Regions from separate parts of the Homo sapiens genome. Here all the other regions are linked to region 3. Evidence: promoter capture Hi-C in 16 types of primary human blood cells and fetal thymus (Javierre and others, 2016). All regions are on one chromosome and are shown on one strand. Each heading gives the region's core, a stretch centred on a gene start or on the middle of the fragment in contact. The rest is flanking DNA. Distances are from core to core; before and after follow the strand shown.

Evidence for each region. Contacts are between HindIII fragments. The CHiCAGO score rates a contact against its expected background, and 5 or more counts as called.
Region 1: a fragment that was not itself captured here is called in contact with the fragment with the promoter of CCNB1IP1 in region 3 in 2 of 17 cell types (neutrophils and naive B cells); the score reaches 7.3 in neutrophils.
Region 2: a contact is called between a fragment that was not itself captured here and the fragment with the promoter of CCNB1IP1 in region 3, in 1 of 17 cell types (naive B cells). The highest score is 6.6, in naive B cells.
Region 4: a contact is called between a fragment that was not itself captured here and the fragment with the promoter of CCNB1IP1 in region 3, in 17 of 17 cell types (naive CD4 T cells, naive CD8 T cells, non-activated CD4 T cells and 14 more). The highest score is 29.8, in naive CD4 T cells.
Region 5: a fragment that was not itself captured here is called in contact with the fragment with the promoter of CCNB1IP1 in region 3 in 13 of 17 cell types (total CD8 T cells, naive CD4 T cells, non-activated CD4 T cells and 10 more); the score reaches 15.5 in total CD8 T cells.
Region 6: a contact is called between a fragment that was not itself captured here and the fragment with the promoter of CCNB1IP1 in region 3, in 1 of 17 cell types (naive B cells). The highest score is 5.0, in naive B cells.
Region 7: the fragment with the promoter of RNASE1 here is called in contact with the fragment with the promoter of CCNB1IP1 in region 3 in 3 of 17 cell types (erythroblasts, neutrophils and total B cells); the score reaches 5.5 in erythroblasts.

Annotation. Positions count from the first base shown.
Region 1 is chr14:20,774,337-20,777,541 of GRCh38, forward strand. All of the region lies in intron 1 of LOC107984671 (a long non-coding RNA gene), which reads right to left. Among named protein-coding and RNA genes, the nearest start is that of RNASE6, 5.3 kb to the right of the region's middle. RefSeq lists an enhancer at 599-1,202. The HindIII fragment of the contact is 1,584 bases long and covers 912-2,495 here.
Region 2 is chr14:20,716,183-20,719,552 of GRCh38, forward strand. No RefSeq gene overlaps it. Among named protein-coding and RNA genes, the nearest start is that of EGILA, 11 kb to the left of the region's middle. The HindIII fragment of the contact is 3,886 bases long and covers 1-3,370 here.
Region 3 is chr14:20,331,445-20,334,689 of GRCh38, forward strand. It overlaps CCNB1IP1 (cyclin B1 interacting protein 1), which reads right to left and starts at 1,835. Exons shown (of 7, transcript NM_021178.5): 1 at 1,810-1,835. RefSeq lists an enhancer at 1,605-1,914. The HindIII fragment of the contact is 11,464 bases long and covers 1-3,245 here.
Region 4 is chr14:20,672,898-20,676,419 of GRCh38, forward strand. No RefSeq gene overlaps it. Among named protein-coding and RNA genes, the nearest start is that of TRT-TGT5-1, 7.0 kb to the right of the region's middle. The HindIII fragment of the contact is 2,088 bases long and covers 350-2,437 here.
Region 5 is chr14:20,651,793-20,655,145 of GRCh38, forward strand. TRY-GTA5-3 (tRNA-Tyr (anticodon GTA) 5-3) reads right to left here and starts at 1,400; the gene lies at 1,307-1,400. It overlaps LOC124903281 (a long non-coding RNA gene), which reads left to right and starts at 1,520. Exons shown (of 2, transcript XR_007064059.1): 1 at 1,520-1,698. The HindIII fragment of the contact is 845 bases long and covers 1,474-2,318 here.
Region 6 is chr14:20,820,999-20,824,377 of GRCh38, forward strand. No RefSeq gene overlaps it. Among named protein-coding and RNA genes, the nearest start is that of RNASE1, 20 kb to the left of the region's middle. RefSeq lists an enhancer at 732-1,026. The HindIII fragment of the contact is 1,018 bases long and covers 1,270-2,287 here.
Region 7 is chr14:20,801,385-20,804,736 of GRCh38, forward strand. It overlaps RNASE1 (ribonuclease A family member 1, pancreatic), which reads right to left and starts at 1,460. Exons shown (of 2, transcript NM_002933.5): 1 at 1,413-1,460; 2 at 1-709. The coding sequence starts at 684. The coding sequence ends at 214. All of the region lies in intron 3 of LOC105370397 (a long non-coding RNA gene), which reads left to right. The HindIII fragment of the contact is 7,079 bases long and covers 1-3,352 here.

The DNA.
Region 1 (3,205 bases), core at 454-2,953, 440 kb after region 3:
ATGGTGGCACGCCCTTGTAGTCCCAACTATTCAGGAGGCTGAGGCAGGGGAATCGCTTGAACCCAGAGGTGGAGGTTGCATTGAGCTAAGATTGCGCCACTGCACTCCAGCCAGCCTCAAAAAAAAAAAAAAAAATTGGTTCACAAGCAGGTTAAGTGGATTGTGCCACTGACTCCAGCCAGCCTCAAAAAAAAAAAAAAAAAATAGGGTTCACAAGCAGGTCGAGAAATTCTGTTTGCTAATTGCAGGAGTGAGATGCAAAGTAAGAAATGTTTACTTCATACAATTCTCCCTGGAGCAGTATGGGCCAGGGAAAATGCTAAACAATAAAGTACCTTGTGTTCTTCAGACTCCTACAATGTGGAATGACTCTGGCCTTGAAACAATTAAAGAAAAACCAAAGTGTCAACATTATTTATTAAGTGACTGCACACTTTCCTATAACTCTAGTAGCCAGCGTATAAGGCAGTTCCTCAGCTTTGCAATTTTTGAGTGCACCTGGGGAGGAGCAGACACCTGGGGATGACAATCTCTACCAACCAAACTCAGAAGAGACTAGTATTAAACCAGTAGCTCTGCATGTAGGATCAATATACATATGAGAAGAAACAATACTGTTTGTTTTTCTCAGTTGACAAACGCTCTTCAAAATGTATGTAGGGAAGGAAAAAATTTTCCTTCTACCCCTTTGGTTCTTGGCTGGGGCCACCGAAACAAAAGTCAGATTAACAAGAGAAAAATAGAAGTTTAGTAACATGTGCATCTCATGCATACATGAGAGAAATTCAGAAAGCAACTCAAAGAGGTGGCTAGAACTTGGGCTTAAATGCCTTCCGCTAAAGCAAAGGAAGAAGCATGTCGGGGAGCAACTTACAGGGGGATGACCAGGAAAAGTACAGTAAACAAGGGAAAGCTTTCTCATGCAGATTTAAGTCAGTACCTTCTCCGCTGATAAGGGTTTCTTTTGATTTAGAGTCACCTTTCTCTTTCTGGTGAAGAAAGGGAGACATCCTTACAAATGAAGATTTCCCTTATAAACGCAAATGTCCCTTACAAAACAGCAACGTGCACTCTATTTTCAGAGTTTGTCTTGTGTATACTGCTTCTCAAAATAAGCAGTTCAAAATAATATTCATAATAAAGAAGCATATTTTGGGGTGGCATATTCTGGTCTCCTATAGTAGATTCTCACAAATACCTCATTTAAGTAACTCTTTAAAACTTGCTTTTATTAAAGGGTTAGCAGATGGTTGTTCAAAATAGTATAGGAGGAAAGTAGATTTAAGGGCAATTAGTAATAGCTTTGTGTTGTTTCTCTGGCTTTCCCGGTGGTCCACCCCTTATTTGGATAGCTGCATATTGACTCTCCTTAGGTATCTACCCTTCCTCTTTTGTGTGTAGTATTGGTGAGGCTGTCCACTAAGGTCTGCAGTCCCCTCTACTGAGCCAAGCGATGGTTATGAGATCCAAGCTAGCCTAACTGAAGTCTCATAGGAAACAAGAATATGTCACCCCAAAATATGCCTCCAGGTTGAAAGTCCTGTCAATTAGCATTTTTGCTGCTCTGCATCCTTACTGGCTTTGATGATGTCAGTTTTCACTGCATTTTAGTCATTCATGTAGGTGTGTAGTATTATCCCATTGTTTTAATTTGCAATTTTCTAATGACAGATTGAAGGGATTCACAGCCCACCAATATGGCAAAACTGCCCTTGCAGAGTTATGGAGTGTTGCAAGCCAGGCTCTAGGCAGAATTGCACATTAATCATAGCATGCTGGTACACTTCAACCCACTTCCCTGTAGCTTCTAATTTCCCAAGTAGCATGCTGACCACCTACTCCCCGATTGTTCCTATAGGTAGAATCTCCAATACTAGAATCATGAAATCTTTTTGCTTAAGAATTGCTTAAGGTGTTTTTCTGATCCTGAATTCCAGTGCAACAGCTAATGCTAACCAGTCTAAAGACCCCTACCAAGGAACTGGCTTGGCACATGAATGCTGAGTTTCTTCATGTCCCTGTCCCATGACTTCACCTCTCACTTCTTGATGAATCAGAAATGCTCACATTTTGGCCCTTGTCCAGACTCCTTAAAAACCCTATCCCCAAACCCAAAACCAAATTGTAGGTTACCTCCCATCTACTCATTTGGCTGCCCTATGAAAATTAAACTCTCTCTTTTTCAATCCCTGTTTTCTTAATATATCCATTTGTTGTGCATCAAGTAACAAATCTGTTATGATGATAGTGGCATGAAAATTATTTTAAACTGAAAATGTCTGAACAGACAGAAGCTGCAGAAAGAAACACTATTTAAACTTAACCAGAGCCTCTTGAAAATTCAGCTGCCATTGATCCCCTTCAAAGGTATTTTCCTGTTTGAAACGAGACAGCCCCTTAGCACTGGGATGTGTAAATTAGCTTCCATAAACCCCCATACAGGGAAACTTCCAGCCAGGAAGAAATCAATCTACCCATTTCTATTAGCATCAGAAAGCTTACTAGAACCTTCCATATTTTCCTTTTGAAGCCCCAACAAAAATCTTTTATTTTTTATTTTATTTTATTTTTGAGACAGACTTTCACTCTTGTTGCCCAGGCTGGAGTGCAGTGGCGCAACCTTGTCTCACTGCAACCTCCGCCTGCCAGGTTCAAGAGATTCTCCTGCCTCGGCCTCCCGAGTAGCTGGGATTACAGGTGCCCACCACCATGCCTGACTAAATTTTGTATTTTTAGTAGAGACGGGGTTTTACCATGTTGGCCAGGATGGTCTCAAACTCCTGACCTCAGGTGATCTGCCCACATTGGCCTCCCAAAGTGCTGGGATTACAGGTGTGAGCCACCATGCCCGGCCAAATCTTTTTTTAAAAAATAGAGATGGGGGTCTTGCTATGCTGTTGGTTTCAAACTCCATGCCTCAAGTGATCCTCCTGCCTCAGTCTCCCAGAATGTTAGGATTACAGGCATGAGCCACTGCACTTGGCCAAAAACACTTTTTTTAAAGTTGATATATAACTTTACCTCTGGCTATTCAGCAAGTTACGCATTATGTAATACTCCTGTGTGCATGTGTAAATAAACTTTGAATTTTCTCCTATTAATCTTTTTCTAATTCACAAGCTCCTTTACCACCACCTTTAAAACCTAAAATGATAGAGGAAAAGTTTTTCTCCAAACAATGTGATGCTGAACATCTTTTCATTGC
Region 2 (3,370 bases), core at 673-3,172, 380 kb after region 3:
GGAAAGTTAAGGGAGGTTTTAGTAGGTGCTGTTTCTTTGCACTGCCCCACGGACGCATGGTATGACACAATACCCAACAAGAATGAGTACACCTATTACGGCTGCAAGAGAAGTAAGAATCGAGGCTATGATCTTTTCCATCTACTGAACCACCTTTCTAGCCATCCTGAGAAAGGGTTATTGACTCCAGAATCTTTAACTAATTCATTGGATAAAGCAGTAAGTCCTTGTAAGACCCTTGTTATGCTCCCAGTGGGGGCAGTGTTGCTTGGGATAAAGGTACAGCCCTGAGTTTTAATCATAACACCAACACTGCCTTTTTCAGCTAATATCACATCTAGGGCCATTCTGTTTTCCCAGGCCATCTGGCTAGTGGGCCCCAATTGTTCTGCTATCCCTTTGACAGCATCCCTGGTGTAATTAATAAACCACTGCTAATTATAATAGACGTAATTTATCCAATCTATGTTTTTATTAATTGTCACCCACAAAATCCTGCAGCTATTTAATCTTGACTCAAATCCTGCAGCTATTTAATCTTGATCTTTAAATTTATCTGGTACTCCTCATGGGACTCCAATTGCATCTAAATAAATGTGGGAGTTGAAAGACCCATAAGGAGCTTCCCTTGTTTTATGATGTTGTATTTTTCCTCTCTCTGGTTGATGAAATGCTAGGGTGGAAGGGATAGCCAATTAAACTAGAGCACAAGTGCTGCTCCAGTTACTTGGCAGAGAGTCCAGTAAAGGTCCACCACAATACCACCATACATATGCTTGGGGATGAACAAGGGCTGACTGATTGGTAAGCTCTTGGAAAGTCTTAAGCTCACTGCATCTTTTTAGGTCTCCAAGGAATGCTAAGTTTCCTCCCTGTAGTGAGAGATATGAAGTGAACTTAGCGTCAGGGGACAGAAGCTGAGTGGACCTTGGGGGCTGACCTGCAGGGTATTGAACCTCAGGATATAGCAGAGAGAGCTTGACACGACTTTTTACCCCAGGCTGTGTAATCCTGGAAAAAAGTAACCATACAGCCCATGCCTAGTAGACTAAAGGACTATCCTAATGGAAAGGGGACAATCTGGGCTTCTGGTCTGCCGTGCGCACAAGCATAACAAATGCTTTTGTTTAAAGTGTGGATGGAATGTTTGATCCACTCCAACCAGGCATTAGCATCTTGATATTCTGTCTCAATTGCCAAAGTTTGTTTTAGGTCTTTAACTTCTATAATAACTACCTTGGTCTTGTCATTAGATGGAGGAGAACAACAGTTTTGTTGTGAGAGCTTCTGGAAGAAGGCTTAAGGGAAGGTGTAGGCGGCAGAGGATCAATGAATTGTGTTTCAAAGGATCTGATAGGGTCTGTTCCTGAAACCTCAGCCCCCACACCATAAAACCGGCTTAAAGAAGGGAACCGGCTTAGAGAAGGGGAAGAGCTTTGAGGGTTTGAGATAATAACCTGTATTGGATTGCACGGTTCAGCTGACAGCTAGGTGAAGCTGTTCCTTTAGTAAAGTGAATATATGACTTTAGGAAATTACAACCACTGGTTGGGGCAGCTCATCCTTGCTCTTTAGTGGTCCACAGAATGTTGGACCAACTGTGGCATAAAAGCTCTGTCTTGCAGGAGCAAGACTCCCAGCTGATACTGGGGTCTTTATTGAAATCTCTCCAGACTAAATGATCCCCATTCACTAATGTCCAGTCTGAGGAGAGCCGGGAAGGACAGAGGTACTTTTCTGAATTGGAGAGCTGTCTTTAACTTGACAAGTCTCCACAAGGTATAACAAGGCAAGCATCAAATGTAATAGTTTGAGGTGAAATTGACTTTGTTACATTAATAATGAGGTGGTCAGCAATAGAATGAGGAAAGAAGAAGGAGTAATAAGAGAGTTAAATTTTTCTTAGCTTGGCTCACGCCTGTAATCCCAGCACTTTGGGAGGTCGAGACAGGTGGATCGTTTGAGGTCAGGAGTTCAAGACCAGCCTGGCCAACATGGTGAAACCCCATCTCTACTAAAAGTACAAAAATTATACAGGCGTAGTGGTACACGCCTGTAATCCCAGCTACTCGGAAGGCTGAGGCGGGAGAATTGCTCGAACCCGGGAGGTGGAGGTTGCAGTGAGTGAAGATCGCACCACTGCACTCCAGCCTGGGCAACAGAGCAAGACTCTGTCTCAAAAAAAAAAAAAATTTCTTAGCTTTAGTTTGGTAGGGTTTTCCCCTGGGACTATGGCCCACGACTCTGGAGGGGGCGGCACTTTCTTGACTTGGGTGTGATAGGTCCATCCTTTTTCTGCTGTCTGGACTGCGCTTTCAGTAGTTAGGAGCACTAGATAAGGTCCTTCCCAGGCCAGTTCCAGCTTTTCCTCCTTCTAGTTTTTGATGAGGACTTGATCCCCGGGCTGATTTCGATGTACTGGGAACTCCAGGGATGGTGCCTGTGCTAAAAGACCTTTAGTTCTAAGGGAAGAGAAAGTGGAAGATAAACCAAGTATATAATGTCTGAGAAACTGATCTTTTGTTTCGAAGGTGGAAATGTCAGCAGTGGAGTGTAAATAGGGCAACCCATATAGCATCTCATATGGGGATAGGCCAACATCTTTTTGAGGGGTGGTTCAGATTCCTAGCAAGGCAATGGGAAGGCATTTAGTCCATGGCAACTGAGTCTTTAAGACTAATTTGGTTAAGTGACTCTTCACGGTTTGATTTATTCTTTCTACTCTTCCCGATGAAGGTGGGTGCCAAGGAGTATGGTATTCCCACGTTATGTCTAGTGCTTGGGCTAATTTCTTAATGATATGTGCAGTGAAATGAGTTCCATTATTTGAATTAATATTTTCAATTTATTTGCCCAGATCCATTGGAGGAACCACTATCTATGACCGCTATAGTCTTATGAAATGTATTTCTGAAGTAATAAGACTTGAAAGCCAAAATTACTCCTTGATCCATGGGCTGCAGAACTGCAGAACGGATGTTGTGTGAGCAGGCATGGAAACTATGGAAATTAATATCTTTGAACATCTCCATCAGAGGCCTTAGGTAACCAAGTGCATTGCCAATCAGCAGTAGTATTTTGAAAGGAATCTTTTTTTTCTGAGCAGGTCTCAATAATGAGCTTAAAATATTCAGTAAACCATGATGTAAACAGATGTGCTGTCAATCAGGCTTTGTTGTTCCATTTATAGAGACAGGCAAAGTAGATTCAGCATAATTCCTAAGGGCCCTAGGATTTTCAAATGATACATGAGCACTGGCTTCAACCTGAAGTCTCCAGTGGCAGGTGCCCCCTGACAAGAGAGTTGGCCTGCCCTCTGAAGCTCTGAAACCAGGCACTGACTCCTCCTCTCTAGCTATGGGAGTCCCAG
Region 3 (3,245 bases), core at 585-3,084:
TTTCTAATCACCACCGTGTACAAAATAAATATAAATAGGAAGCACTGCAAAATATCTAGAGTCCTTTTAAACAAGAATATACCAAAACCCAATTGAAATGCCTTTATGCCAACTGACTGATTTACAAGGTTATTCATTTGAGGGGGAAATATCAAGATCATAAACTATCTGAATACCTACTGATAAAAGCTAAATAAATTATAGTAGGTACATAAATTAGAATACTGAGTTACCATTATACCCTGAAAACCTACTGAAAAAATATATTTTTTAAAAAAAATAATTTTTAAAGAATACTATGTTACCATTATGAAGAATGTGAACACTCTACTCATGGAACTTAAGTGGAAAAAGTAAGACACATAGTAGAGTAGGTATAGTAAAAGGGAAGGATACCTACACATATTTGCTTATATGCATAAAATATCTTAGTAACACTGTTATGAGGGAGAGGAATTGGATGGCTTAGGGAAGGGGATAAGAAACTTTGATATCTTTTGAATTTTGAACCATGTGAATGTATTACCTATTCAAAAATATATATATATATGATGTGTATACATATATATATATATATATATATTTTTTTTTTTTTTTTTTTTTTTTTGAGACAGAGTTTCGCTCTTGTTGCCCAGGCTGGAGTGCAATGGCGCGATCTCGGCTCACCGCAACCTCCACCTCCCGGGTTCAAGCGATTCTCCTGCCTCAGCCTCCCGAGTAGCTGGGATTACAGGCATGCGCCGCCATGCCCCAAAAAATAAATTTTAACAATGCTTGAGAATTATAAAAATTATGGGAGGCCTACAAATACCTATTACTACATTCGATTAACTGGTTTATTATTTGTCTTTCTCACACTTTCTGCCTATAAGAATATCCAACACAAACATCACATTAAAATTAACATGTACCAAAAGAAAGGAATTCAGTGAAATGACATTGAAGGTCACTAAGCAAACTTTTTATGAGAAAACAGATATCCAAAATACTTGCTGTAAATAAATAAGTACTGCTTACTTCTAAAGGTACCTAACATTTATTACACACCAACTAGAGCCTAGTTTTTATATATTTTATCTGATCTTGGAAAGCTAAGCCTCGGAATGGCTCACTGCTTCTCCCAAGGTCACCAGAGCTGTAAACTGTGGCGCTGGAATTTAAATCTAGAGGCTTGCCCTGAACTAAGGTCCCTAATCTTTTTCCATAGCTTTTAAGGACACAATCACCACAGTGGCAACATTAAAAATTAGGAGCTCCTTTTAAGGCTTATCTGTCTTCAGAGTTTGCTGCCCAGGTTCACCAAGAAAGCCGAAATGATCTGAGCGAAGGCCAGGAGAAAGACAAGGTACGCTGCAGCTTCCACAAACCCAGTAAGGACCTGGGCCCTCTAGACACTCACCGGAGAATTAAACTCTACTGAGCTGAACGCCTTCTCCCGAAATCTGACCTCACCCAGGGAGATATAAATCAAAACAGCATTAGGATGATAATATCTTTCCCGCCAAGCAAAATGAAGCCGGCGTTTTCCAAGAACACACGCACTGTGCACATGAAGCACAGTCTATTGTTCCTGGGTCACCAGGACTCGGAGACGGAAGGCAAACCCAGTACTGCAGAGGCCCACGTGGAAACAAGCCAGGAAGAGCATTTCACTGCCTTCTCCCAACCTCCACACAGCCGAAATTAATCTCCTTGCGACTCACACACACTCCTATGCCGACTTGAAATAAAGGCCTGCCACCTGGGTATATAACTCAAATGGAAGAGAAATTCAAAACAATTAGAGAGCAAAATTAAGCGCACACTCACCAGCCCACCAAAACGGAGAGGGAAAGAAAGTGGAGAGACAGGAAGTCGCCTTGGGAAGTGTCTTCAGAACCTGATTGGCTAATGAGTTCAAGAGGATTCCCTCCTCCTTTACCTTAAAAGGTGCTGAAATGACGTAACCCACTCCACCCCTCTTTATGGACCAGTGATGCTTCTTGCACTATTTTTGGAGTGAACTTCTTAAACCGAGTTTCCTTTTGAGTTAATGTACTTAGGCAAAAACAGGCTAATTTAAGCTATTTATACACGTTGTTGTTTGCGTGGGCCTACTGCATTCTATTCTAAAGAATTTTCATCCCTTAAGGGTAATTTCTTATCCTTTGTGACCTCAACATGCTTAACTTATGCTAGGCAACAGATTCCATTATAAACAGTCTAGATCGATTCAAGTTAAAATTTACCTTCATTTTTTCCCCCCAGATCCAAAGCTGGCCTGATAAAATTTACCTTCAGGTAATCTTTGAACTAACAGGCTTAGTAGATAAAAGGTAGGTGGGTTAAGTGTTTTAGGCTTCAAATAAAATTTAGCTGATTTTGAATCTGAACCTTGCCACTTATTTGCACACATCTAAGCCTCAGTTCCAACTATAAAAAGAGGGAAAAAAGATGAAATCTTCCTACTCTGATGGTTATGAGGATTAAGTAAAATAATTTATATAATGTACTCAGTACAATGCCCGGTACACAGTACTCAACAATGTTAGCTGTTATTATTGTTATTACATATTTCTTGTTAGATTTATATTCCCAAGTAGACTATAAACAACTGGAGATCAAAGTGTACGTTTTACACATCTCCAGACAAAAACAATGACTTTCAATGCTGAGGACATAATTGATTAATCAATTATTTTGACTCCTCACATCGCCCTCCAGTTAAAGTATAGGTTCTTACTCTGTTAAATTTTTTTTTTTTTTGAAACAGGGTCTCACTTCGTGTCCCAGGCTGGAGTGCAGTGGTGAAATCTCGACTCACTGTAGCCTTGACCTCCCAGGTTCAAGCGATCTCCTGCCTCAGTAAGTAGCTGGGACTACAGGCGTGCACCATCACACCCAGCTAATTTTTGTATTTTTTTGTAGAGATGGGGTTTCGCCATGTTGCCCAAGCTGAAAGATTTCTTTTTAAGCCATAATTAGAGGACTCCCCGGCACAATATTCATCATTATTCTTAATAAATACTATTATAGTAATAGGGAATATATATACAAGTATGTGTTATATGTACAAATATACATGTAATGTGCAAATGTTTGAAGTATAAAGATTCAAGTTATATGGAGAAATGATACAACTCTAACTCATAGTAGTTCTCATTTTTTAATCATTTCATCCTATCCACCCTGCTTCCACCTTACTAGAAATTACCTATTCCAATCCACTTTAGAGTTTACCTGCCCCAAATTTCCCAACATTTAGC
Region 4 (3,522 bases), core at 144-2,643, 340 kb after region 3:
TGATGTAACCAACTCCATCTTTTTTTTTTTTTTTTTCCGAGACGGAGTCTTGCTCTGTTGCCCAGGCTGGAGTGCAGTGGCGCAACCTCGGCTCGCTGCAACCTCCGCCTCCCGGGTTCAAGCGATTCTCCTGCCTCAGCCTCCCGAGTATCTAGGATTACAGGCGTGCACCACTACGCTCGGCTAATTTTTGTATTTTTTAATAGAGATGGGTGTTCACCATGTTGGCCAGGCTGGTCTCCACCTATTGACCTCAAGTGATCTGCCCGCCTTGGCCTCCCAAAGTGCTGGGATTACAGGCGTGAGCCACCGCACCCGGCTACCAACTCGATCTTGCTTCTAACCTCCAAGCTTCCTTTGCTCATTTCTGGGCGTATGCCAAGCAAACCACGGGAGGAATTTAGTTTGTAGTTTAACTTTCAGACAAACATGACAACAGCCCCTTCATGAAGCAAACCCCCTCCTTGCTTGGGGGTCAGACCTCCTTTGTAAAAGCAACAACTTAGCCCACAGTATTAGAAATTATGGCTCAGGAGTCATATAGCCAGAGGCCACAAGATCCTAACCTCCTCAATTGCTCCTATAGATAACATTATTATTGTAAAAATCTAAGATTGCTGTTCTAGGTATTTTTCAGACTCTGCATTCTGAATGGATCAGCTGGCGTCACCGAGATCGATAAACTGGCCCCCTCTCAGGAACTGACTCAGTGAAAGAAGGCAAGCTCCGACTCCCTGTGATTTTATCTCTGACCTAACTAATCAGCATTCCCCTGCCTGCCCAAATGTTGCGGGACTTTTCTTTAGTTCAGCTCAAGACAGAGTTCTTTGTCCCACGGCCACGAAAATTCAGGCTCGCAGACAATTGGAATGGTGAGTAAGACAGGGTTTTATTGGGTGAAAAAGGAAGAAAAGGGGGACTCTGCTAGGCCAGAGTCCCTGCTAGAGCACTTGCCGCCCAGGCTTTCAAATCCCAGGCTCCTCCCAGGAAGAGATGGGGCCAGGCTCCTCCTCGCTGCGAATGGCACTAACTTCCCGAGGTTCCACCCCAGTGCGCATTCGTCCCAGTGCGCAGGCTGGTCGGGGAGTCTGCGGGGACCCCCTTCCACCTGGCTGTCTCACAACTATCCTTGAAAAACCCTAGCCTCGACCGGACGCGGTGGCTCACGCCTGTAATCCCAGCACTTTGGGAGGCAGAGGCAGGCGGATCACGAGGTCAGGAGTTCGAGACCATCCTGGCTAAAACAGTGAAACCCCGTCTCTACTAAAAATACAAAAAATGTGCCGGGCGTGGTGGCAGGGATCTGTAGTCCCAGCTACTCGGGAGGCTGAGGCAGGAGAATGGCATGAGCCCGGGAGGCGGAGCTTGCAGTGAGCCGAGATCGCGCCACTGCACTCCAGCCTGGGTGACAGAGCGAGACTCCGTCTCAAAAAAAGAAAAACCCTAGCCTCTGAATTTTCGGGGAGGCTGATAGGAGTAATAACAAAGCTCCAGTCTTCCATTCTTCCATTTAGTTGGCTCTGCATTTACTAAACTCTTCATTGCAATAACACTGTCTCAGTAAATCAGCTTTTCTGGGCAGGGGCAAGATGAACCCATTAGGCAATTATGCTGGTGCTGGGAGCAGCATCTCTGTCCCATCTTTTCTATAAGCTCTGTCACAAAGAAGCTAATACTTTTAGAATATGTACCTCAAGTTAGCCTCTGAGGGTTGAAAATGAATGATTTTTAAGCCAAACTAATTTTAAGCACCCACAACCGACTGAATGGACTCCTGGGATTAAAGGTGTGAGCCACCACGCCCAGCCTCACCTGGATAATTTTTTTAAAAACATTTTTTGTAGAAATGGAGCTTTGCTATGTTGGCCAGGCTTGGCATAATTATTTTATAAATTGTATATACATATGTATAATTGTGTGTACTAGTAATAGTGAAAATTGACATTTTAAAAAGCAGTACAATTTACAACAGAGTAATTAAATATAAAATACTTAGGAATAAAATATGTCCAAGACTTGTACACTGAAAAAAATGCTAAGAGAAATGAAAGGAAACCTAAATACATCAAGAGACATTTCATATTTGTGCATGAACAGACTCAATATTGTTAAGATATTTGTTATCCCTAAATTTATTTATAGATTTAATCTAATTACAATAAAAATCCCAACAGGGTTTTTTTTTTTTTAAAGAAATTGACATGCTAATTCCAAAATTCATTTGCAAATTCAAAGACAGCATGCCCAAAACATCTTTGGAAAAAGCAAAGTTGGAAGACTCACTCTGCCCGACTTATTTATATTTTATTGTATTTATTATAAAACTGCTATAATTAAGACAGTGTCATACTGGCATTAAGAAATTTAAAACAACAGAACAATAGATCAGGAGTACGGAGATAAAACCACATACATATTGTTAATTGACTGTTGCCAAAGCTTCAAGGGCAATTCAGTGGAGAAAGGTAGTTTTCTCAGCAAACTTTAGAAAAATCACAACAACAAATTTTTTTTTTTTGAGACGGAGTCTCACTCTGTTGCCCAGGCTAAAGTGCAGTGGTGTAATCTTGGTTCACTGCAACTTCCCCCTCCTGGGTTCAAGCGATTCTCCTGCCTCAGCCTCCCAAGTAGCTGGGACTACTGTTGCGTGCCACCATGCCCGGCTAATTAAGAAAAGATTCTTGATCCCTACATTGCTCTACATATAAAAATGAACCTCAAGTAGATCACAGACCTACCAATAAAACCCACAACTTTAAAATTTTTATAATAAAATCTTTGTCAACTTGTGCTGGGGAAAGTTTTCTTAGATACAACACTGAAAGTATGACTCACAAAAGAAAAACACAATTAAATGAACTTCATTAAAATTAAGAAACCTCTGCCTTGGTAAAGACACTGTAAGAGACAAGCTACACACTGGGAGATAGTCATCTCCAGAGATGGCTTGGCCTCCTAGGGGACTTTTGGCAGTGGCTAGAGACAATTTTGATGTCACAGCTGGGTAGGGAGGGCATATTACTACTGACATGTAGTGAGGAAAGGCCAGGGGTTCCGCTAAGCATCCTGCAATACCCAGGACAGCCCTCTACAGCAGGGATGACTACAGTAAAGAGCCACATGGATAAACTTATCACTTGCCTACTTAAGGCACCGGCCAGTCAGATTCCATCACCACCTGCTAACATGAGCTGTCGCCTCCTTCCCAAAGCCTTGAGGTAGGGACAATGCCTGGATTCAAACTTGGATGTGATAGACCCCAAATCCTGCCCAGTGCTCCTCCTGGGTACCAAAGGTATCACATGGGGCAGGAAGGGCACTGCACTCAAAGGCTAGAAAGTAAGGTTGCTCCTTAAAGAGCTCAAATTCTGACTTCAAACTCATATTTGGACTTTTTGTGGTCTAGGTGGCAGCGAGGGTGGTCTTCTGTGGTTGGCTCAAGCCTGAGCATTGAATCTTCTGAAATATCACCTCCCTGAGCTGGTGACTAGTTGCCTCCCTTGGTGATTTGTGTCCTGCTTA
Region 5 (3,353 bases), core at 646-3,145, 320 kb after region 3:
TATCTAAAAGGAACTTCAGAAAATAACAAAAATGGAGGAGATAAAATAAAGAAAGAATAAATAAGTTTTCTGAACTAAAGAAAGACACTTCTGAAATTTGGGAGACCATGCAGTGAACAGTATTAAACATAAAAATACCCACAACTATATACACCTTGGTGATGTCTCCAAAGTCCAAGAATAAAGACAAAAGCTTAAATGCTTCCTGAAATGTAAAAGAAAAAAAATTATCTATAAAATAAGAAAAATCAGTTTCATCATCAATGAAAACTCTGTGTAACAAGAACAATGTCAGTTATCTTCAGGAGTAAGAGGGAAAATGATTTTGAGCCTAGTATATTGGTTTTCTAGGGCTAACATCATAAAATACCACAGACAGGGTAGCTTTAACAACAGGAATTCATTTTCTTACAATTCTAGAGGTTTGAAGCCCAAGATCAAGCTACTGGTTTCTGAGACCTCTCTTTGGCTTGCAGATGGCTACCTTCTCTCTCTGTCCTTACACAGTTCATCCTTTATTTGCATACATCTCTGGTGTCTCTCTGTGTCCAGATTTTTTTCTTCTTATAAGGGTATTAGTCAGATTGGATTATGGCACACCCTAACAGCCTCTAACTTAATCACCATGTTAAAGGTGCTATCCTATAGTCACATTCTGGTGTATGGTGATTGGGGCTTTAGCATATTAAATTTTGTAAAGACACAGTTCAGCCCATAATACCTCCAATTCTATTTTCAGCATAAATAGCAGTCAAAAGAGAGTTTACATTGAGGGCACTTGGTTGGGGGGTGTTCTAGAACTTATATCTTCATTAAGATCCATGGATGCATTCTAAAGGAATTGCTCAAGGTTGAACTCCTGAAAATAAAAAATAAAATCACAAAACAGTGAGATGCAAAAAATTTATGAGCAAGGAAAGAAATAGAACTTATATGTAAATGTAAATAATTGTTAAGACATTGTTTTAATATACATGAATTCAATTTTCTAACATGTTATTCAAATATTTCATCTAGTTTCATAAGAATATCAGTTATAGTGTCACCTAATGGCCATAAAAATCAATGACTTGGAGATAAAAATCCCAGATTATATAAAAAATTTGAAGATAGTAGAGAAAGCAATGACTTGAAGAATGAGCAGACTCCCAAGGCCACAGCATAGGCTGTGGGAAGCTGGGTAATCCGGAAAGGCCTTGCTAGGTTTCTCCTGGGAGAGTGTGGATGCTGGCTGGCAAAGCCTTTGACCAGGCAGAGATGCAGCCACGTAGTTTTGGTGCGTGCGTGTGCAAAAGAATACGGCAGCTCCTTCGAGCCGGAATCGAACCAGCGACCTAAGGATGTCCACAAATGTTTCTACAGGCTACAGTCCTCCGCTCTACCAGCTGAGCTATCGAAGGGCGCACGTTTCTGGGGTTGGGTCATTGATCTTTCAGCAAATGCAAGACTCCTTGCAACTCTAGTCGTCCAATAAGCTTTAAGTTGGTTGGAACTCGCCTTAGAGAGATAATCCTGCGCCGATCGCCACCGCGCTCCTTTTGCGGCGGAACAAAATCCTCTGGCTGTGGTTGACTGGCTTTCCCCGGCATCGATAACAACGACCCATGAGGGGCGAGCCGGGTAGGGGGCGTGGGGGTAGTGGTGGGAGTGTGCTCTCACTTGCTATCTTCTTCCTCCTGTGCATCCCCCTTTCTACAGGTGAGGATGACAGACCTCAGTGGCAAAAAAAAAAAAAAGTGAGAGGGTGAGAGGCAGAGGGGTTGGCGAGGTGGATGCAGGGTGCGGGGGTCCGGTGAGGGAAGGGTTGCTGGAGGAGAAAGGAGGAGACCTGGAATGGACACTGGTAGAAGGCTTCCAACCCCAGCCGAGCCGCAGGGTCTGGTGGTGGCCGGTAATGAGGCCCTTCCCTAACACTCTGACCTCCCTACACCTTCCACTGCTCTCCCACCCCCTCATCCCCCACCCCCGTTCTTCCTCCCGATGCGCTTTCTGCCTTCTACCTACAGTATCCTAAGTTCACGTATTGGCCCGTTGAGGTGTACTGGGAAGTGAGGGAAAGAACAAATAGAATTAGGTGAGGAGACCCCTCCCAGGGATTGCAGAGGCACATGTAATACCCCTCCTCCCTCGGGGCCAATCTGGTGGTTGGCTTCCCTCCTCTGCAAACCAATCAGAAATATTTTGCCACTTGCAACTTCTAGAAGTAGGACAAGGCTCTGTGGGCTCTGAAAAAGCAAAGGGGCAAGGACCAGCCTGAGCAACACGGCAAAACCTTATCTTTACAAAAATTACAAAAATTAGCTGGGTGTGGTAGCACAAGCTTGTAGTCCCAGCTACTTGGGAGGCTGAGGTGGGAGGATTGCTTGAGGCCAGGAGTTCAAGGCTACAGTGAGCTATGATTATGCCCCTGAATTCTAGCCTGGGTGACAGAAGAGACCCTGTCTAAAAAAAAAAAAAAAAAATAGGGGATGGGTGAAGTAGAAGACAGAAGTGTCAGTGTTGGACTGCTTACCCTGACCCCATGTGTTTGACAATGTTTCAGATCTTATCTGGTGTGTGTCACTATATCGGGGGACCTGCCCCGATAATCATGTAGGTTCTTTTCTATTTTCCTAAGCATCGACTGGCTTGAGAAATAAAAGGACAGAGTACAAAAGAGAGAAATTTTAAAGCTGGGCATCCGGGGGAGACATCACACATTGGTAGGATCCGTGATGCCCCACAAGCCACAAAAACCAGCAAGTTTTTATTAGGGAGTTTCAAAAGGGGAGGGAGATACGAATAGGTGTCGGTGACAGACATCAAGTACTTAACAGGGTAATAGAATATCACAAGGCAAGTGGAGACAGGGCGAGATCACAGGACCACAGGACCGAAGTGAAATTAAAATTGCTAATGAAGTTTTGGCACCATTGTCATTGATAACATCTTATCAGGAGACAGGGTTTTGAGATCAACCGGTCTGACCAAAGTTTATTAGGCGGGAATTTCCTCTTCCTAATAAGCCTGGGAGTGCTATGGGAGACTGGAGTTTATTTCACCTCTGCAATCTCGACCATAAGAGACAGGTACGCCCCGGGGGGGGCCAGTTCAGAGACCTACCCCTAGGTGCGCATTCTCTTTCTCAGGGACGTTCCATGCTGAGAAAAGGAATTCAGCGATATTTCTCCCGTTTGCTTTTGAAAGAAGAGAAATATGGCTCTGTTCCCCCCGGCTCACCGGCGGTCAGAGTTTAAGGTTATCTCTCTTATTCCCTGAACATTGCTGTTATACTGTTCTTTTTTCAGGGTGCCCACATTTCATATTGCTCAAACACACATGCTGTACAATTTGTGTACTTAACGCAATTATTA
Region 6 (3,379 bases), core at 529-3,028, 490 kb after region 3:
GCGGGCAGATCACGAGGTCAGGAGTTTGAGACCAGCCCGGCCAATATGGCAAAACCCCGTCTCTACTAAAAATACAAAAATTAGCCAGGCATGGTGGCGGGAGCCTGTAATCCCAGGTCCAGGGAGGCTGAGGCAGGAGAATCGCTTGAAACAGGGAGGTGGAGGTTGCAGTGAGCTGAGATCGTGCTGTTGCACTCCAGCCTGGGCAACAAGAGCAAGACTCTGTCTCAAAAAAAAAAAAGGTATTTCACTTCTAATAGGAGAGCAAGAGACCATTTTTTCTTCTGTGTCAAACAATAGCGTGCCCTTGCCTGCTCTTTTATCTGTGATTCCACAGCATTTCACACTTTATTATACCATGTCTCACATTCAGTGGGAATTCTTTCTTCTCAGTCTCCCAAATTACACTGTTTTCAAGAACAGAAAGGGTGTTTTATTCACACATATCTCCTGATCATGTGCCATGTATACAGTTGGTCTCCAATTAATACATGTCAAGTAAATTAATGTCTCATTGTAGAAGGCTACGGAGTCACAGAAGATTAACTGACTAGAAACAAAGAAAATACTATACAAAAAATATTAGACATGGTGCAGAATCAAAAGGTGGTTGTGGAAGAAATGGAATGTGTTTTTCATGAAGGAGGAATGTAACTACCCAGTGGTTTCACCTTGCCCACAGCCTAGACAGAGCCAGTTTATCAAGACAGGGGAATTGCAATGGAGGAAGAGTAATTCACACAGAGCCGGCTGTGTGGGAGACCGGAGTTTTATTATTACTCAAATCAGTCTCCCCAAGCATTCAGGGAAGCAGAGTTTTTACTGACAACTTGGTGGGTGGGGGGAAGCCAGTGAGCCAGGAGTGCTGACTGGTCAGTTAGGAAACAAGACCATAGGGAACTGAAGCTGTCCTCTTGCACTGAGTCAGTTCCTGGGTGGGGGACACAAGATCAGATGAGCCAGTTTATCAATCTGGGTGGTGCCAGCTGATCCATCAAGTGCAGGGTCAGCAAAATATCTCAAGCACTGATCTTAGGAGGAGTTTAGGGAGGGTCAGAATCTTGTAGCCTCCAGCTGCATGACTCCTAAACCATAATTTCTAATATTGTGGCTAATGTTAGTCCTACAAAGTGAATCTAGTCCCCAGGCAAGAAGGAGGTCTGCTTTAGGAAAGGGTTGTTATTGTCTTTGTTTTAAACTACAAACCATAAAGCAAGTTTCTCCCAAAGTTAGTTCAGCCTACCCCGGGAATGAACAAGGACAGCTTAAAGCTTAAAAGCAAGATAGAGTTAGTTAGGTTAGATCTGTTTCACTGTCTCGGTCATAATTTTGCAAAGGTGGTTTCAGAAAGGTGTCATGATGTGTACAATATCATCTGAAAAAGAATAAATGAGAAGCCTAGCTCTCCAATAAAAAGGCAACAATTAATGACTGCTACTGTAGAAAGGTGAATTTTCAAAAACAGAGAAGTGGTGTAATAAATATAGCTCAGGTAATATAAAAGGTCAGGGAAAAAAAGTGTGTTTTTTCCCCAGCTCTGCTACTTATAACTTGATGAGACTTTTCGATAAATCTTTTTGGAAGCTCTTAAAAACTACCAATGCCAGCCAGGTACAGTGGCTTACGTGTGTAATCCCGGCACTTTGGGAGGCCAAGGCGGGCAGAACACTTGAGGTCAGGAGTTTGAGACCAGCCTGGCCAACATGGTGAAACCCCTAGTTATAAATAAAGTTTTGGTGCCACAAAAGAAATAGCACTCGAATATAAAATGTTCTTTTTAATTCTCAGCAAGGCAATGTACTTCTATAGAAGGGTGCACCCTTACAGATGGAGCAATGGTGAGCACACACTTGGACAAGGGAGGGAAAGGGGTTCTTATCCCTGACGCATGTGGCCCCTGCTGCTGTGTCGTTCCTCTATTGGCTAGGGTTAGAACGCACAGGCTAAACTAATTCCGACTGGCTAATTTAAAGAGAGTGACAGGGTGAGTGGTTTGGTGGGGAAAATGGTTATGGCAGAGGAAGTAATCGGAATGAGTCAGGGTGGAGCAGGTAATTGGAATGAGTCAGGGTGGAGCAGGTAATCGAAAAAGGTTGCTTTACGAGGAAGTTAAAAGTAGAAGGCAAAGAATTGAACATACGAACATACTGACATACTGATTCTTTGAAGAGAAATTTAGAACTCATATCTAACAACCCCTCCTCTTATATTTCCTTACAGTTTTTTCTCTTCAAAATTCTTTAACATGTCTCGGCTTAGTTGTTTTGCTTGATTTTCCAAAGGAAGAAGCTTCTCTGGATAAGGTGGAGGATAGTTAAGGGAGGTTTTAGTGAGTGCCATTTTTATGAGCCTCTGCACCAACCCATGGATGCATGGTGTGACACAGCACCCGACAAGAATAAGTACACCCATTACGGCTGTGAGGGAAGTAAGAATTGAGGCTATTATCCTTTTCCATTTACTGAACCACTTTTCTAGCCCTCCTATAAAGGGGTCATTTACCCCTGAGTTGTTGGCTAACTCATTGGACACAGCAGTCAGACCTTGCAATGCCTTTGTTGTACTTCCATCAGGGGCGGTGTTGTTTGGGATGAAGGTACAACATTGAGTTTTAATCATGATGCAAATTCCTCTTCATTCTGCTAATATGTCTAAGGCTATCCTATTTTCCCAAGCCATCTGGCTAGTAGCCTCTAATTGCTCAGCTATTCCTTTAACAGCAACTCTAGTGTAGTTAATAAATTGCTGTTGGTTGTAGTAGATGTAGTTTATCCAATCTACATTTTTATTAATTGTCCCCCACCAAAATATTGACTCAAATCCTGCAGCTCTTTGATTTCAGGTTTTAAATTGATCTGGTATTCCCCATGGGATTCCAATTGCATTTAAATAGATGTGAGTCGAAAGACCCGTAAGTGGCTTCTCTTGCTTTACAATGTCTTATTTTTCCTTCCTCCGATTGATGAAATGCCAGGGTGAAAAGGATAGCCAATTGTACTAAAGCACAAGTGCCACTCCAGTTATTTGGCAGAGCTTCCGGTAAAGGTCCACAATACCACCACACATCCGCTAAGGGATGAACAAAGGCTGACTGATTTGTAAGCTCTTGGAAAGTCTTAAACTCACTGCATCCCTTCAGGTCTCCAAGGAACGCTAAGTTTCCTCCCTGTCATGAGAGACACTAAGTGAACTTAGTGTTGGGAGATGAAACACTCCCAACATCCCCGAGGGGATGGCCCTCGGGGGCTGACCCACAGGGTGCCAGACTTCAGGATATAGCAGAGAGAGAGAGCATGGCATGACTTGTTACTCCAGGCTGTAGAATCCTGGAAAAGAGCTACCATGCAGCCCATGCCTGGTTGACTGGAGGACCACCCTA
Region 7 (3,352 bases), core at 210-2,709, 470 kb after region 3:
AGAAAGAGTGGAGGGGTTAACATGGGGCCCACCTCACAACCCACTCTTCACCCCCAAAATCACGCAGGGATGGGACTCAGGAAAGGGAAGCATGTGTGTGTTGAATAGGAGCCCTAACTGTAGTTACTTCTTTCACAGCAGGGAAGGAAGAGGGAAGAGGCAGCTGTGGAGAGGATGAGGTTGAGGGAGGTGGGGTATCTCGCTGCTCTGACCTTAGGTAGAGTCCTCCACAGAAGCATCAAAGTGGACTGGCACATATGGGCTCCCTTCACAGGCCACAATGATGTGTCTCTCCTTCGGGCTGGTCCGGTATGCACAGTTGGGGTACCTGGAGCCGTTTGTCAGGCGGCAGTCTGTGATGTGCATGCTGGAGTTGCTCTTGTAGCAGTTGCCCTGCCCGTTCTTGCAGGTGACCTTTTCCTGGAAACAGACATTCTGGACATCTACCAGGGGCTCGTGCACAAAGGTGTTCACTGGTTTGCACCGCCCCTGTGTCATATTCCGGCGCCTCATCATTTGGTTACAGTAGGTGGAGCTGCTGCTGGGGGAACTGTCTGAGTCCATATGCTGCCGCTGGAATTTCTTGGCCCGGGATTCCTTGCCCAGGGAAGGCTGGACCCAGCCCAGCACCAGCAGTATCAGGACAAGCAGAAGGAGCCGGACAAGAGACTTCTCCAGAGCCATGGTGGCCTCACTTTCCCAGAAAAGCCTAATTGAGAAAAGGAGAGAGAAGGAAAAGAGCCCTCTTAGAAAAAGAACTCCAGCTCCCACCTATGGCTTGCCTGGTTTACACTTTCTGTTTCAGGTCAGCCAGAAAGACGTCCATCCTACTTCCTGAGGTTTTTCGTGTAATGAGACACTCACGTGTACCCTTTTCCACGAGCGTTTTATTCCCACTCTCCAAAGCGAGGTCTTCCTCCCCTCTAGGTGGTGACCTACAAAGTGACCTAAAATCCTGTCAGTTCCTATCTTTGAATACTGGAGTTTCTTTGATCCAAAATACATTTGTACCCAGTGCTCAAATGGCTCATCGAAACATCAGTTTGAATAAATCATGAACCAAATTGTATCCCCGACATCCAGGGCCATGGGTGACAGAGCCTTGTTGTCTTGGAGCATAAGGGAACTCAGGCCAGTGCCTGACACTGGCATCATAAAAGATTCCATTGTATTCCAGAGAGAAACGCTGGCCTCCCCCAATTTGGAGGCTCCTTCTTCTCCAGTCCCATGGATGCTCTGCAGCCTGCACGTTCCACCCTGACCCCTCTGCCCCCAGCTGATGTTTGCCTGGGCCACATTTTTTCAGCGCTAGCATCACCCAATCTTTCTCAGTGCTGTGGACTGGCCCTAGCTCCCTCTTCTGCAACCCTGAAGCAGAAGCGGCACCTGAGAACACCTCTTGGGCTGCTTACCTGGATCTGCAGCTTGGTGTCTGAGAGAGATGGAAGGCCAGTTTCTGCAATCACTCAGCTCCCGGGGTGTGGACCTTATACAGATTACAAAGGGGTTTGGCTTCCAAGAGGAAAAGGGTGGGAGGAGCATCTGGAGCTCAGTTCAAATAAAATCAAGGACGTGAGGAAGGAGTGGTGAATCACCCAGGCCGCCGTCTTTCTAGGGCTGCTGAAGAAAGAGCAAATCTTTGCCTACGTTAGTCTTTCTTCCTATGTGAACCACATCTGTCTGCTGATGCACAAGGAGCAGCAGAGAAAGCCACTACAGCACTGGTGCCCAAACCTGGCACACTAGGAACAAAGTCCTTGTTACTTCTTCGTGGGCGTTTTCACCAAGTAGACTTGGAGGTTAACAAAGGACGCAAAGGAGAGGTTCTAATGGGAGATAGGGAATTCTGGCCAAAGCTATTCCAGGGCTCCTAGGGAGCAAAACCCAAGTCTCTTTCTAGGAGGGCATTCTCCCAACGCTACCTCTCCCGGGGATGGGAGGCGGGGTCGGGGGGAATGGAGGCTGTCCTGCTGCCCCCAGCTGGAAGGCTTCCCAGATCTGGAGAAGAAAGGGGGAGTAACTGAATAGGGAGGAGGAGGAGGCCTCTAGGGTGCGCTCACCCAGTTCTGGCCACTTCCCACCCACCCTCCACCCCTGCTCTGGGGGCATCGAGAGGATGGGGCTGTTCTTATCTACAGTAACCACTGACCCTGTAGGTCGGAATTGAGTAGAGGAACTAAAGATAAACTTAAATCCCAAATCTCAAATTCTTTTTGGGGAAAAAATACAAAGAATATCATATTTATTAGCAGCAGAATGCCCTCCTAGAAAGAGACCTGTTTTTTTGCTGAGTAACAATTTGGATACCTCTAAGAATTATCAAAATATCCCTTCGTGCTGTGTATTCAGATTGTTTCAGCCTTTCTGTGTAAAAAGTGGCCATAGTGAAATTATCTGACCTACCTTGTGTGATTGTAGGTCGTAAGATCCTCATTCCAGAGAGGGTCCTGCCCCCCATACCCAGAAAAAAAGGACGAATGCTCAGAGAGGCCAAGAAGAATCTAGACAGGGAGGCCTTGCTGGGTTTCCCCACTCAGTCTATTTTCATTAGATCGCCCTGTTGTCCAGTCATATTTCTACACAGCTGTTCATACTTTGTTGATATCCAAGTGTAAGAATGCCCACTTTCCCCTGTTATCTTTGGGTCTTCTGAAGGCTCCCGTGTCGTGTAAAACTACGATCAAATCAATTTGTATGCGTTTTTTCCTATCAATCTGTCTTTTGTCAGTTGATTTTCAGCAAACCTTTGGAGGGTGAAAGGGGAATTTTTCCTTGGCCCCTACAGTTTCCTTACTCCCCCAGCCCCCACCTGTATTTTATTTTTCTGAGTCTTTAATAATACTTTTATTCTCTTGAATAGTCAAGTTAGAATGTGTTCATTCATTCATTAGACTGTGGGATACAGACATAAATAAGGCACAGGACTCACCTGAAGGGCGCCTGGTGGGATGGTTTGGTTAGTCAGGTGGACCCCACTAAGGCACTGGGCGTGGCTGCACAAAAGTGGCCTCCACCCAGCAAGATGATTTCAGAACCACAGTTCAGATGTGAACAGATCTTCTGTAACTATAATAAGGCTCTTCAACAGCCCCTGGCCCTAGGAATCCTGAAACTACAGGAAGCCATTTTGTCTATTTATGCATAGCAATCTAGACAAGCCCTTGGAGCTTTAATTGCACTTCAATGGGGAACCATCAGAAGCCCTTACTGCAGCCTTATCCTTGACCCAGTTGCAGAGGCATAGCCCCGCTTGTCTTAGGGCAGTAGATGCCATGGCAACATTTGTTGTTGCTTCTGCTGAACTTGTTCTAGACTCCCTGCTTGACCTCCTGGTTTCTCACGCAGCACAGGC